3 separate regions of the Homo sapiens genome follow, and all the other regions are linked to region 2. The links are contacts of gene promoters, found by promoter capture Hi-C in blood cells and fetal thymus (Javierre and others, 2016). All regions are on one chromosome and are shown on one strand. The core of a region is centred on a gene start or on the middle of the fragment in contact, and the rest is flanking DNA. Distances in the headings are between cores, read along the strand shown. Region 1 holds the start of LOC100506236 (a long non-coding RNA gene). Region 2 holds the start of HOXA11 (homeobox A11). Region 3 has its middle 56 kb from the start of MIR148A.

Evidence for each region. Contacts are between HindIII fragments. The CHiCAGO score rates a contact against its expected background, and 5 or more counts as called.
Region 1: a fragment that was not itself captured here is called in contact with the fragment with the promoter of HOXA11 in region 2 in 1 of 17 cell types (naive B cells); the score reaches 6.0 in naive B cells.
Region 3: a fragment that was not itself captured here is called in contact with the fragment with the promoter of HOXA11 in region 2 in 11 of 17 cell types (total B cells, naive B cells, naive CD4 T cells and 8 more); the score reaches 18.9 in total B cells.

What each region holds. Positions count from the first base shown.
Region 1 is chr7:25,829,845-25,833,647 of GRCh38, reverse strand. LOC100506236 (a long non-coding RNA gene) reads left to right here and starts at 564. Exons shown (of 3, transcript XR_108752.5): 1 at 564-738; 2 at 1,699-1,882; 3 at 2,089-2,357. RefSeq lists an enhancer at 2,976-3,548. The HindIII fragment of the contact is 4,145 bases long and covers 277-3,803 here.
Region 2 is chr7:27,183,695-27,187,206 of GRCh38, reverse strand. It overlaps HOXA11 (homeobox A11), which reads left to right and starts at 1,975. Exons shown (of 2, transcript NM_005523.6): 1 at 1,975-2,771. The coding sequence starts at 2,063. HOXA11-AS (HOXA11 antisense RNA) reads right to left here and starts at 1,799. Exons shown (of 2, transcript NR_002795.2): 1 at 944-1,799. RefSeq lists enhancers at 848-1,729, 2,612-3,493, 3,494-3,512. The HindIII fragment of the contact is 8,872 bases long and covers 1-3,512 here.
Region 3 is chr7:25,892,454-25,896,175 of GRCh38, reverse strand. No RefSeq gene overlaps it. Among named protein-coding and RNA genes, the nearest start is that of MIR148A, 56 kb to the left of the region's middle. RefSeq lists enhancers at 827-916, 3,110-3,189. The HindIII fragment of the contact is 3,429 bases long and covers 1-3,024 here.

The sequences.
Region 1 (3,803 bases), core at 1,100-3,599, 1.4 Mb after region 2:
CGAAAGTGCCATCTCTCCCATCTGAGCACCGACGGCTAAAACATGATCAAGAGGGGACACATCTTCATTCTTTAGTTAGATACAGGGCTTAGAATTGAGGTACCCTTGGGAGAAGGAACACACCAACTTAAATTTGCATTAAGTTATACATGCCTGACGCTAGATTTTCTGGGAGCAGATTTTCATATGGGGAAGCAAGATGGTATTAAGTACGTAAACACGTGTGTTTGAAGAGAAGGTACTGAAAAATGGAGATTGAAGTGCAAATGACAAGCTTCACTTTAAAAAAATTTAGATAGGGCAGTGCTGCTTTCAGAGGACTTGGTTGATGTGTCTTAGTAGAGACCTTGTTCGCGTGGGGAGTCTGTTGTTTCAGAAATGTGTTTCTGCTGCTATTTCTGCTTCCAAGAATGTCAGATAAAGGGGCCTGAACACAACTGGGGACATGTGGGAAGGGGGAGCCTCTAGTCATGGGCAGGGGTGGGGCTGTGATGTAACAGGCATTGGCTTAGACCAATGGGAATGCAGAAACAGATGGATGGGGCAGAGATCCTTGGGTATAATGACTAATTAAGCATGATCTTTAAGTAGAGGTTGCAGGAAGTTTGGGGAGTTGATTGGTAGGACTGAGTAGAAAGCAGAAGTAACACAGGAGGTGGAGGTAAAGAGAAGAGAAATTAAGAAGGAAAATCTCATCAAATGACATATTTAAAGATAAATTAATTAAATACAGAAAAGGTAAATATAATTTTGTTTTCTTCTGGCTAAGTAATATAGATACTTCACATAGCTATGGAGATGATTATTCAAAATCACCGTGAACCTCTTGGCTTCTGGAAGATAGCCAATGTGATTCCCAGAGCTTAGAGGGGCCTGTCTTAACCACCAAACTGAGTTTCCACTGACACCGATACGAAACATGTAGAAAAATATTAGCATTTCCTATTCAAACAAATACGATATAGTCTGGGGACATAAGGTTATCTAATTTTCTTCCAAAAAGATAACATTTAAGAAAGCACATAGTTTAAACAGGAAAAACACTTTGCACAATGTGACCCACTGATCCAAGCCCGGGTAGTTCTCATTGCCCGGGGAGAACAAGCAGAGCATTGTTTCAGCGATGAAAAGAAAAACATCCTCTGATTTTCCAAGTTTGTTCTGAACCAAATTTTTGGTTGAAATAGAAAGATGTATTTTTTTTCCTTTTCTTGCCACCCTTCTTTATTTTTTAACCCATTTTTTAATGAAGCTATCTAAGTGGATGTTGAAACAGTGAATGTTAAGAAAGAGTACATTTCCTATGTAAACAAACACAACCCGGCTTAGAGAGAGAGGAAAGCAGTCTTGTCAACCCGAAAGGAACCCAGCACATGGTAATTTTTGTAATTGAAGTATCCCAGGGATTCCAGGGTACATGAACAATCCATAAAACAGGAATGAGACCACACAAAAACACAACCATGGCTCCAGGCGGGCACTGTTGAAAAGAAGCAGACTTTTAGCAGTAGGAAGCAGGGAGCTTGCATCAGAGGATCTTTGTAAATGCCCCTCTAAAATTAAAGTCCTCTCTAAGCTCCTTCCAGGTAAAAATGTTGTTTACTGGGGCTGAAGGCTGTGAAACACGAGCAATATAGAGAGGAAGACAAAAAGACTGGTGAGGTCATGACCTTGAGCCTTTTTGTTTTCTTTCTCAAGGTCTTTTACATGCATCGTTGGATTGCAGTCTCAAGCCTGGGATTCCAACGGAATTAACGTCCATTGAAAACTTACTGTGCTCAAGGCACAGAACGGGGTAGTTTTATACACATTCTCCCATTTGGATTTTTCAAAGACAACATCTAATCATCCCCAGAGAAATTTCAGCTGAGAAGACAGGATGGTGAGACAGTTCCTAAGTCTTTCCTAGACACAATTGTCTTTGCAAGTCCTCTGCCACAGTCAAAGGTGCTTTCTTGCCTACCTACTGGTAAAATCCTTGACTGTCCGATTTCTCTAAATAACTATAATTGGAGCAATCAGATCATTAAAAAAAAACAGCAGGAGAGATGTTAATGTTCTAAAATACAGTTTCCATTCTAATTGCAGATGAAGTGCCCTGGGGGCCAGAGTCCAGACAAGTATTTTGGCACCTCCAAGGACTCGCAGAACACAGAGAGGAAAAGAGAGACCCTGTTATCTTTCCGCAGGGGTGGCCGTTCAAACTCTCAGAGATGGAAGTTAAGATTTCCTTTGGTATAAGTGGCAGTTTGACTGGCTGCAAGGAGAGCCTCAGTTTGTTTAATTTGGAGTAAAATTTTATGAGTTAATCTCTAGTGAGGGAAAGCAGCAGTAAACACAGAACATACTGGTCATTATTCTAAGTATTTCTACATTCTTTCTCATGCATGAAAGGAGAAAAAAAGTCACAAAAATGAGGAGGCATGGTGCTCAAACATGTGTGTGTGTGTGTGTGTGTGTGCGCGTGTGTGTGTGTGTGTGTATGATTTTGTTTTGATCAAACCATCTGGTGTGCAGCATACCCCAGGATGTGAAGGCAAACATTTACCAAGAGATTCACATGATTTCTGCTGTGTATACTCATATTTGTAGAAGACGCTTATGTTTTCAGAAAGTGGAGATAAACATAGATCTCTCTGCATTTATTAATGCAGCCCCAGTTCTTTGCAGACCAAACCGTTATTTATTTTAGTGGGCCTTAGAAACTCAGGTGTGTTAAAAAGCCAGAGAGACATGCACAATCTGGAAATGATCAGTGTCATGCCTGAGGAAAACATTACCGTGCTCCTCAAGTTTAATAATATGGGCAAAAAATTCAGGGATATTGCGATACGATGGTGTGCTGAGAAGTGGATTAAATCTCGATTAAATCACAACATAAATAATGCCTTAACTAAAAATGTTAAAGGCGAACTTGAAATGGTCTTAAAAACAAAAGAGGTAATTTACCTGATTTATTAGGGGAGAGAAAAAGTAGCTTGGTGTGTGTTCTGTGGATTTCATGTTTAATGGGATGGACTTTTAGGGAAATGGCTGGGGATCTGAGGAAGCTAAACGAAAAACCCCTATATGCTGGCTGGAGTTTTAAGAAGATAGAGGGAGGGAAAAATCACCCATCAACCAACCAACCAAACCAAACCAAGAGTCTGAGTGCCCCAGCACTGGAAGCAAGACAATTGTTTCCTAGGGGACTCCTGGCTACCAGGAGACTGCTCAATAAGGGAGCGCTTAAACTTCAAAAAGGAAAAAGCAGATTTATTAGGAGGCACACATGAGGCTTTAAGGGAATGCTCCTGGTAAGTGGGACTCCTGCTGTTCTCATTCTTGTGCCTTTGTATTGCTGAAAACCCTTCTGCAAGATCCAAATATGCCTTTGGTTTTTTTTTTTTTTTTCCACGTGTGTTGTCACTTGAACATTTTGCACCACCCATCTCTCTGAAAAGTTCAGGATGTAGGGTACTTCCTTTTGAAGGTCTCTCAATTCTTCATAAGGAACTGATCATATTCAGCTTCACTATGGGGGGGCAGTCCTGGGGTGGGCTGGGGGTGCTGGCACACATGTTCCTAGTGGGTCATGTGTCCCCGTGGGCAAAGGATAACACCTCTTGGGGCTCAGTTTCCTCATCAGTAAATAGAGAATCTGCTCTTTAAGGGCCTTGCCAGGTCTAAGATCCTGTGATTCTCAGTAGGCCAGAAAACACAACTTCTGAGCAATCAAACCTCTGAGTGACAGGATGGAATATTTTGCCAAAGGTCATGCAGCAAATGCTTGTCAGTCCTAAAGAGAACTTGAGACTGTACCT
Region 2 (3,512 bases), core at 726-3,225:
CAATCCTTGTAAAGGTGGTGGTGGGGGGAGGTGGAGAGCCACATAAACATTAATGCTAATAAATTAGTTTACTCGACTACAGAGTAATTACTTCATATTATTGATATTTACAGCAGGTATTCAAATGCAATGGTAGGCCATTATTTGGAGAAAATACATAATAAGAATATTTCTTTTCCAGTGCAATACACGATTAGATTTGTTATTGAGTCAGTTACAGTCAGCTCAGCAATAAATAAATAAATCGATGTTGACACTTAAATACCAAAGATCTTAGAGTTTATACTCTAAATCTCCCCAAGATATGTAAATAACTTTGGCTATTTCCTGGAGAGGGAAAAACAAAAGGTTATCTTTTTACATATTTTTTTATTTTCCTTCAGCAACATCCCAGATCCTTCCAAGAAGAGAGTTGTTGGGAGGCCTCAGGTCTGGGCCCTTCTCAGCTCCTGGCTCTGCCTGGCTGCTCTGTGCTCTGTGTCCTCTCCTTTCTTTCGCTTCCTCCAAACATTGCTCCTTCAATCCTGCAGGATGGGGAGCATATTTTGCCTTCTTAATTTATTTTTTTTCCTCTTCTCAAGAAAGCTAGACTCAGAGTATTGCTATGGCCTCTCTCTATCCTTAGCACAAACCTAGCTTTTTAAAGACATCCCTGTTTCCCCAGGTGCAGGGAGTTCGGGAAGCACCTCTCCTTTCTCTGGTATTGTATTCCTCCTGTGGAATGAGCAGTAGGAAAGGCACAGAGCTCTCTGAGTTTTTGCCCTGCACATCCCTTGCTTTCACTCTCACACATTGCAAGGAAGGAGAGTAGGAGAGTAGGTGGGTTACCCCTTTCTCAGCCACCTCTCCTTGGCCCTCAGCCCGTCCTTTCCACCTCCATTCTCCCCACACCCCTGGAGCTCTGTAAGCAGCCTGATGGGCCCCCCACGAAGATGCAGCATACCCAGGAGAAGTCTCCTCGGATGTCAGCGCCTCTAAAGCAGCCCAAGGCTTGCCTCAATTGCATGGTTTCCCGAGTCCTCAGCTCCAGAAGACCAGGCAGATGGGTGGACCGGTGAGCAGCAGGGCAGCCCCTGTGCCTCTGTCTCTGCCGAGTCACTCCGAAGCCCGGCAGGCAGCGAGGAGGAGGGAGTTTCTCCAAGGACAGAAGGTGGGATGAAGAGGTAGGCAGGGAAGATGAGGGGAGAGGTGGATCCCGGGTAAGACGAAGGCCCTTCCGGGCCCTGCGGATCAGTGACAAACCGCGGGGAGAAGCCGTTCTGGCTGTTGGCGGTTTAGGGACGGAAGGCACTAAAGCGCTTCGGAAGTGACCATGAATGAGAGAGTGTAATCAAGTCACCGTGCAAATCGGACAAGCCACCAGGCAGGCACATCCACGGCTTCAAACTCTGGCCCCGAAGGGGTTCCGGCTAGGGTCGGAGGCAGAGGCGCTTCCCAGAGCAAGTCTATGGGAGGGGGACTGCGAAGAAGGGGGTGCAAATGCGAGACTCCAGGAGAACAGACTCCGAGACCACAGGCCACACAGCGACGGACTCCCACCTGGCTATCCCCAGTCCAGGGCATCCCTCACCCACCCGGGGAGCTGCGGGTGGGAGGTGGGGACGAGAGTTGAGCTCTCACCGCCCTCTGCACACTCGAGAACGAGGACCCTGCAATTGAGCACAAGCATGCTGCATGGGGGCGCACCCCAGCCTCTCCGCGCGCGCCGGGAGGCCCCCCAGCCAACATGAGTTACACCGGCGATTACGTGCTTTCGGTGAGAACACCGAGTGACGATCTGTTGCTTCCCCTGAGGTGGCTACAAAGAAAGGAAGCCGGGAGGGAGGGGAGAGGAGGAAAAAAAAAAAAGGAAAGGGGGGGGGAAAAGGCCCGGACTAGCTAGCAGCTTGTCAATTTCAACATCGGGTCACATGACCAGCACCTCCCTGCTAAGGATGGGGATAGATTTCCACGTCAGCTTACGTCTCCAAATTTCTACTTCACGGATCCGCTTCAAAGAGGCAGCTGCAGTGGAGAATCATGTTAAGCTCGGCTACTGCGGAGAGCCCAAGGTAGCCCAATAATGGATTTTGATGAGCGTGGTCCCTGCTCCTCTAACATGTATTTGCCAAGTTGTACTTACTACGTCTCGGGTCCAGATTTCTCCAGCCTCCCTTCTTTTCTGCCCCAGACCCCGTCTTCGCGCCCAATGACATACTCCTACTCCTCCAACCTGCCCCAGGTCCAACCCGTGCGCGAAGTGACCTTCAGAGAGTACGCCATTGAGCCCGCCACTAAATGGCACCCCCGCGGCAATCTGGCCCACTGCTACTCCGCGGAGGAGCTCGTGCACAGAGACTGCCTGCAGGCGCCCAGCGCGGCCGGCGTGCCTGGCGACGTGCTGGCCAAGAGCTCGGCCAACGTCTACCACCACCCCACCCCCGCAGTCTCGTCCAATTTCTATAGCACCGTGGGCAGGAACGGCGTCCTGCCACAGGCTTTCGACCAGTTTTTCGAGACAGCCTACGGCACCCCGGAAAACCTCGCCTCCTCCGACTACCCCGGGGACAAGAGCGCCGAGAAGGGGCCCCCGGCGGCCACGGCGACCTCCGCGGCGGCGGCGGCGGCTGCAACGGGCGCGCCGGCAACTTCAAGTTCGGACAGCGGCGGCGGCGGCGGCTGCCGGGAGACGGCGGCGGCAGCAGAGGAGAAAGAGCGGCGGCGGCGCCCCGAGAGCAGCAGCAGCCCCGAGTCGTCTTCCGGCCACACTGAGGACAAGGCCGGCGGCTCCAGTACGTATAAAGGCAGCGCCCTGCGCTTTATGAAAGGGGAGTTGGAAATCTAGCGCAGCACCGCTGTTAAATTTTTATATGCTGTTTTATAAGCATATAAGGTTTATGAAGGGCCTTTAGGTTTCCCCCAACAAAACTTTGTTATAAAAGGCGGGATCACGTGGCGAGTGCTGAAATTGGCCGTGAAATACCCACCGGCCAAGGCATGCCTGCAAAAAAAAACAACTCCCCTTTTCCCTTTTTTCCCTTCTCAGCTCCCAAGCCCAGCAGCTCGACCCCGCTCGGGGCCAGCTCCAGGCTGGGGAGCCGGAGGTGGGCGCCTGTAAATTCCCCCTGCAAGGGCTTCGGGAGCTTTTGATAGCGAGGTAATCCGGAGATTTTTATAAAAGCCATGTGTTGCGCCGGGACTCCAGTCCCGGCCGGGATTCAAAGGCGTCGCTGTTTAACGACGGCGCTAGGAGCGCGTTTAACAGATAAAGTAGCCCGCTTAGCTCTAGCAATATATTAAAAGAACAAATTAACCCAAAGTTGGCCTTTTTGTCCAAAGGAAGCCATTTTCCTCTGGCGTGGTGGCAATTACGTGCCTCCTTCTGCCCAACTGCATGTTATTCACAATTGTTATTCAATCTGTCAAAAGCGATTTTTTTTTTGTCTTGTGGGTCTTTTTTTTTTTTTTTTTTTTTTTTTTAAAGGGGGAGCAAGTAGAGCCTGCCCGCAGCTTCGGGAAGCCCCCTTTCCCTT
Region 3 (3,722 bases), core at 61-2,560, 1.3 Mb after region 2:
TAATTTGGGTTGTGTCAGGTGCTAGTGGATTCAAACAATACATATTGTGGGAACCATCAATAGCTTTGGTAGTCAGGATTCTTTAGTTTGCAGGGGACAGAAAAAAGGCTTGGCAGGCTGGAGGGTAGAGGGGCAGGGTTCCGCAGAAGATTCCCAGGAATGGTTTTTAGTTGGCCAAGGACTCTGGTGGAGGAAGGGGGATGCTGAGTGGCCTAGGTCAGGCACTTACCCGACCCTCCCTAACTCCTCCTTCTGAAATCAGAGAGGGAGGAATCTGTGATAGAAGAAGGAGGAAAAGGAATGGATAGCCCCAAACACTGCGCACTATAATAGTTAATCATATTGATAGTGAGCGCGCGGTCTCTCTCTCTCTTTCTCTCCAGGCAGCCAAAGACTGCCACCATATGCAACTGGGTCCTGCATTTTTCATCTGCATCACCAATTTGTCACTCGAAAACCCAGGTCTCAATCCTCCCTGATTTTTCCAGAAACACCACTAGTATCCAATTCAGTAGGTCCCTATCATGGGCAGTGCGGGGGCGCCGGGCGTGGGCGACGCTCGTGTGTGACTCGCAGCTGGGCAGCCATCCCCGCGGGCGTCCTGGCTCCCCTTCCCTCTGAAAGCGCCGGGGCGGGCCAGCAGGGGGCGAGTTTCATTTCCGCACCGGAGACCCAGCCGGAATCACAAATGCCGCGAACTACACCCTCCTTTCCTGATCTGGCCAGGAGTCTGTGTCATTAAAACTCTCAGTTCTGCTTTTCCCTATATTAACATTATCTTCATTTTGAGCACATCACGTTCAGTGACAGAAAAGGAGATCCCATGAGTCACTGGAGGTAGACTTAAAATAGCTTAAGGATGATATTTCATGGATGTTAGTGACATCAGTCGAAGAAGCAGTGCTTTCAAAGAGCAGAATTCCTCATATTCACTCTTCGGATACCCAGCAGTTTTCCAGGTCTTGGTCTATACCCAGCCTTTTTCTTGGAGGAAGGTGCTCATCTTCCCACACAGGCTACACAGGGGGCAGGGAAAGTTGGGACAGGTGGCACAAGGCCATGTGAAGCCCCCCGTCCTCCTGCCGGGGCATCTTACATATTGCTGCCACTGCCGAGGGGGCATATCTGTGTATAGCTGCCCAGCAGAGTACAGGGAAGGTGTTATGTGGGAAGGAAGACTCCTGGGTGGGTAGGAGTTTGGGCTAAGTCCCTCCTGGTCCAGGTAACTTAGCTGGCCCCTGCAGATATGAGTGGTGGGAGACGGGATCCGGCGGGTGAGAGAGGGGAACCACAGAACCACAGGCTTTTCTCAGGTCGGGGAAAGACCTTAGAGATCACTTAGCTCAATGTCTTCTTTTCCTGACGCCCAGGGAAATTGTGAACAAATTCACCACCACAGAACTAGGCAAGTCCCCTGGTGGGCAAATGGACACCTTCACAGAAGCCATTTTCTTTCCTTGTGTATTATGTATCAAAGGCTAACTGTTTAACAAGCAACCCCGTGTCACAGTGGCTTAACACAAAACAAGTTATTTCTTGCTCTTGGACCACTGAAAGCGTTTCTTGGACAGCTTCCATGCAGTGATTCAGGGACCCAGGCACCTTTCATTCTGTGGCCCCACCATCCCTAAGGGCCTTAATGTTTGCTGCTGAGTACTCTGCATCTGGCTGTGACAGGTAGAGAGAGAGAATGAAGGACTGTGCAGGAGGTGGGCAGGCCTCACTGCCACTCACATTCCACTAGCTAGACGCCACTCTCAGGGCCAACCTTCCCCCAAGGGGAGCTGGGAAATGTAGTCCAGCTGTGTGCACAGGAAGCAGATAGGATGGCTCGGGGCAAGCACACAGCAGTGTCTGCCTCACCTATCTTCAAAGAAAACAGTCTTTGAGTTCTTTTGGGTTATTTACACTGGGTAGCAGAAGGCACATGATCTTTGGAGGTGGACAGACTTGGGTTTGGATATTGGCAGTGTGACCTTGGGCAAAGAAGTAACCTTTAGCCTCAGTTTGCTCAGCTGGTAAATGGGGCTATCTTGTGGGTATTACCTGAGGTAAGGAATGTAACTTGTCTATGTTACCACGTGGTCTCACATGTTTGTTTGTACAAACCAATGGGGCTGGGAGTATTGTTGGGGGAGGAGGAAACAGACTTCCTGTGTCCCATTTCCCCCACTCTGGATGGCAGCACTGCCCAACAGCTTCATTAGACGCCAAGAGTGGTGGCACTTTCTTCTGTCACTTGTTAAATTTCGATGTAGTTCATTCTAATCAATATGGGACTTTGGAAGGAAAAAAAGCATTCCCCAAACCCACAAGCAACCATTTTATTTGATTCATAAAAATTCAGTCACTGAGAAGGCAGTTCCAGCAAGAGAGTTTTGATCCTTCTTGCTCAGGCTGAGATGGTCACATCTAGAAAGCAGTGATTTTAAAATCCTATTTTCTTCTGAAAAAAAAAAAAATTTTTCTGAAGGGCAGTGAAAAGAGAAATAATCTAAGCTGAAGTGTCACTTTTCACTTATGGATATTGATGCTCTAAGACTAAATCTGGCTGACAGGAGTAAAGAGAACTGCCTTCTCATCATGGGTGAGACCCTGCAGGGTGAGATGTGGCTCAGGTATCATGGTGTGCCCAGGGACTGGCACATTAGGGGCTTCAATAAATATTTGCTGGTTAAATTAATAGGTGATTGAAGACAGTTACAGAAGTAATAACAACGAAAACAATTTTTTGGCCTGAAACGTCACTTTTTTTTTTTTTTTTTTGCGGGGTGGGTGGAGGGGAGGCAGTGGAATCCTGCATTTTAGTTTTTGGATTCCCTGAATGGTTTCTTCAATCATAAATGTTTGCTAAACACACACACACACACACACACACACACACACACACACACACACGCTCATACACGCTCATACACATGCCGACATTCTATAGGAAGGTAAAATAAAGAGGAAGCCCAATTGTGTCTGCCTTTTTAGGGCATTGTCCTTTAAAATAACCTTCCAAGCCTAGCTAGTTAAGCTTAGTGGCGATAAGATATTGAAAGCAATAAATAAATCCACATACGGATCTCAGAAGGTTAACAGTTTTTTAAGAAATTATTGTTCAAATCCAAGGGTAAAATGGCGCCTGAAATTACAAAACGTGGTCCTGTAGTGCCCTCTGGTGTCTTTTGCCTGGAATTGTCAAAGTCTGCCATTGCACCTAGCTCTAGTTATTAGCATAATCTTGATTTATTTGAGTCCGGGACTTTGGGGCCCTGGCTGATTTGGAGGGGAAGTGGGGGACGCAGGAAGCTGGGACTACTTTCTTTCAGGCCTTTTTTCAAATGGGTTACCAGCACAATGTAAAAATAATTTTATATTAACCCTGGTATAAGATTTAAAAATTGAAACGAATCATTATCTTGAAAAGAAGCCTTTTAGCTCCAAAAAATTATTGGCTTTTTTTCCAGAAGGCATATTATGCAGTTTCTTTTGTCCATTAAGCTATTCTTTGCAAATCAATTGGACAGAGGACATTTTTTAATTTCAGAAATTAATTATCACATGTAATAACTGAACCATTCTTTATTTTTTCTTGATACCCATTCAGTTAAATAAAAGACATGTGAGCTAGTCTATGAAATAGAATAAAGATTATGAATAAAATTAAAATATTCTAAAAGACAGTATTTTTTATGTTAAAAAAGTGTTGAAATTTATTCCATAAGGATGTTCAT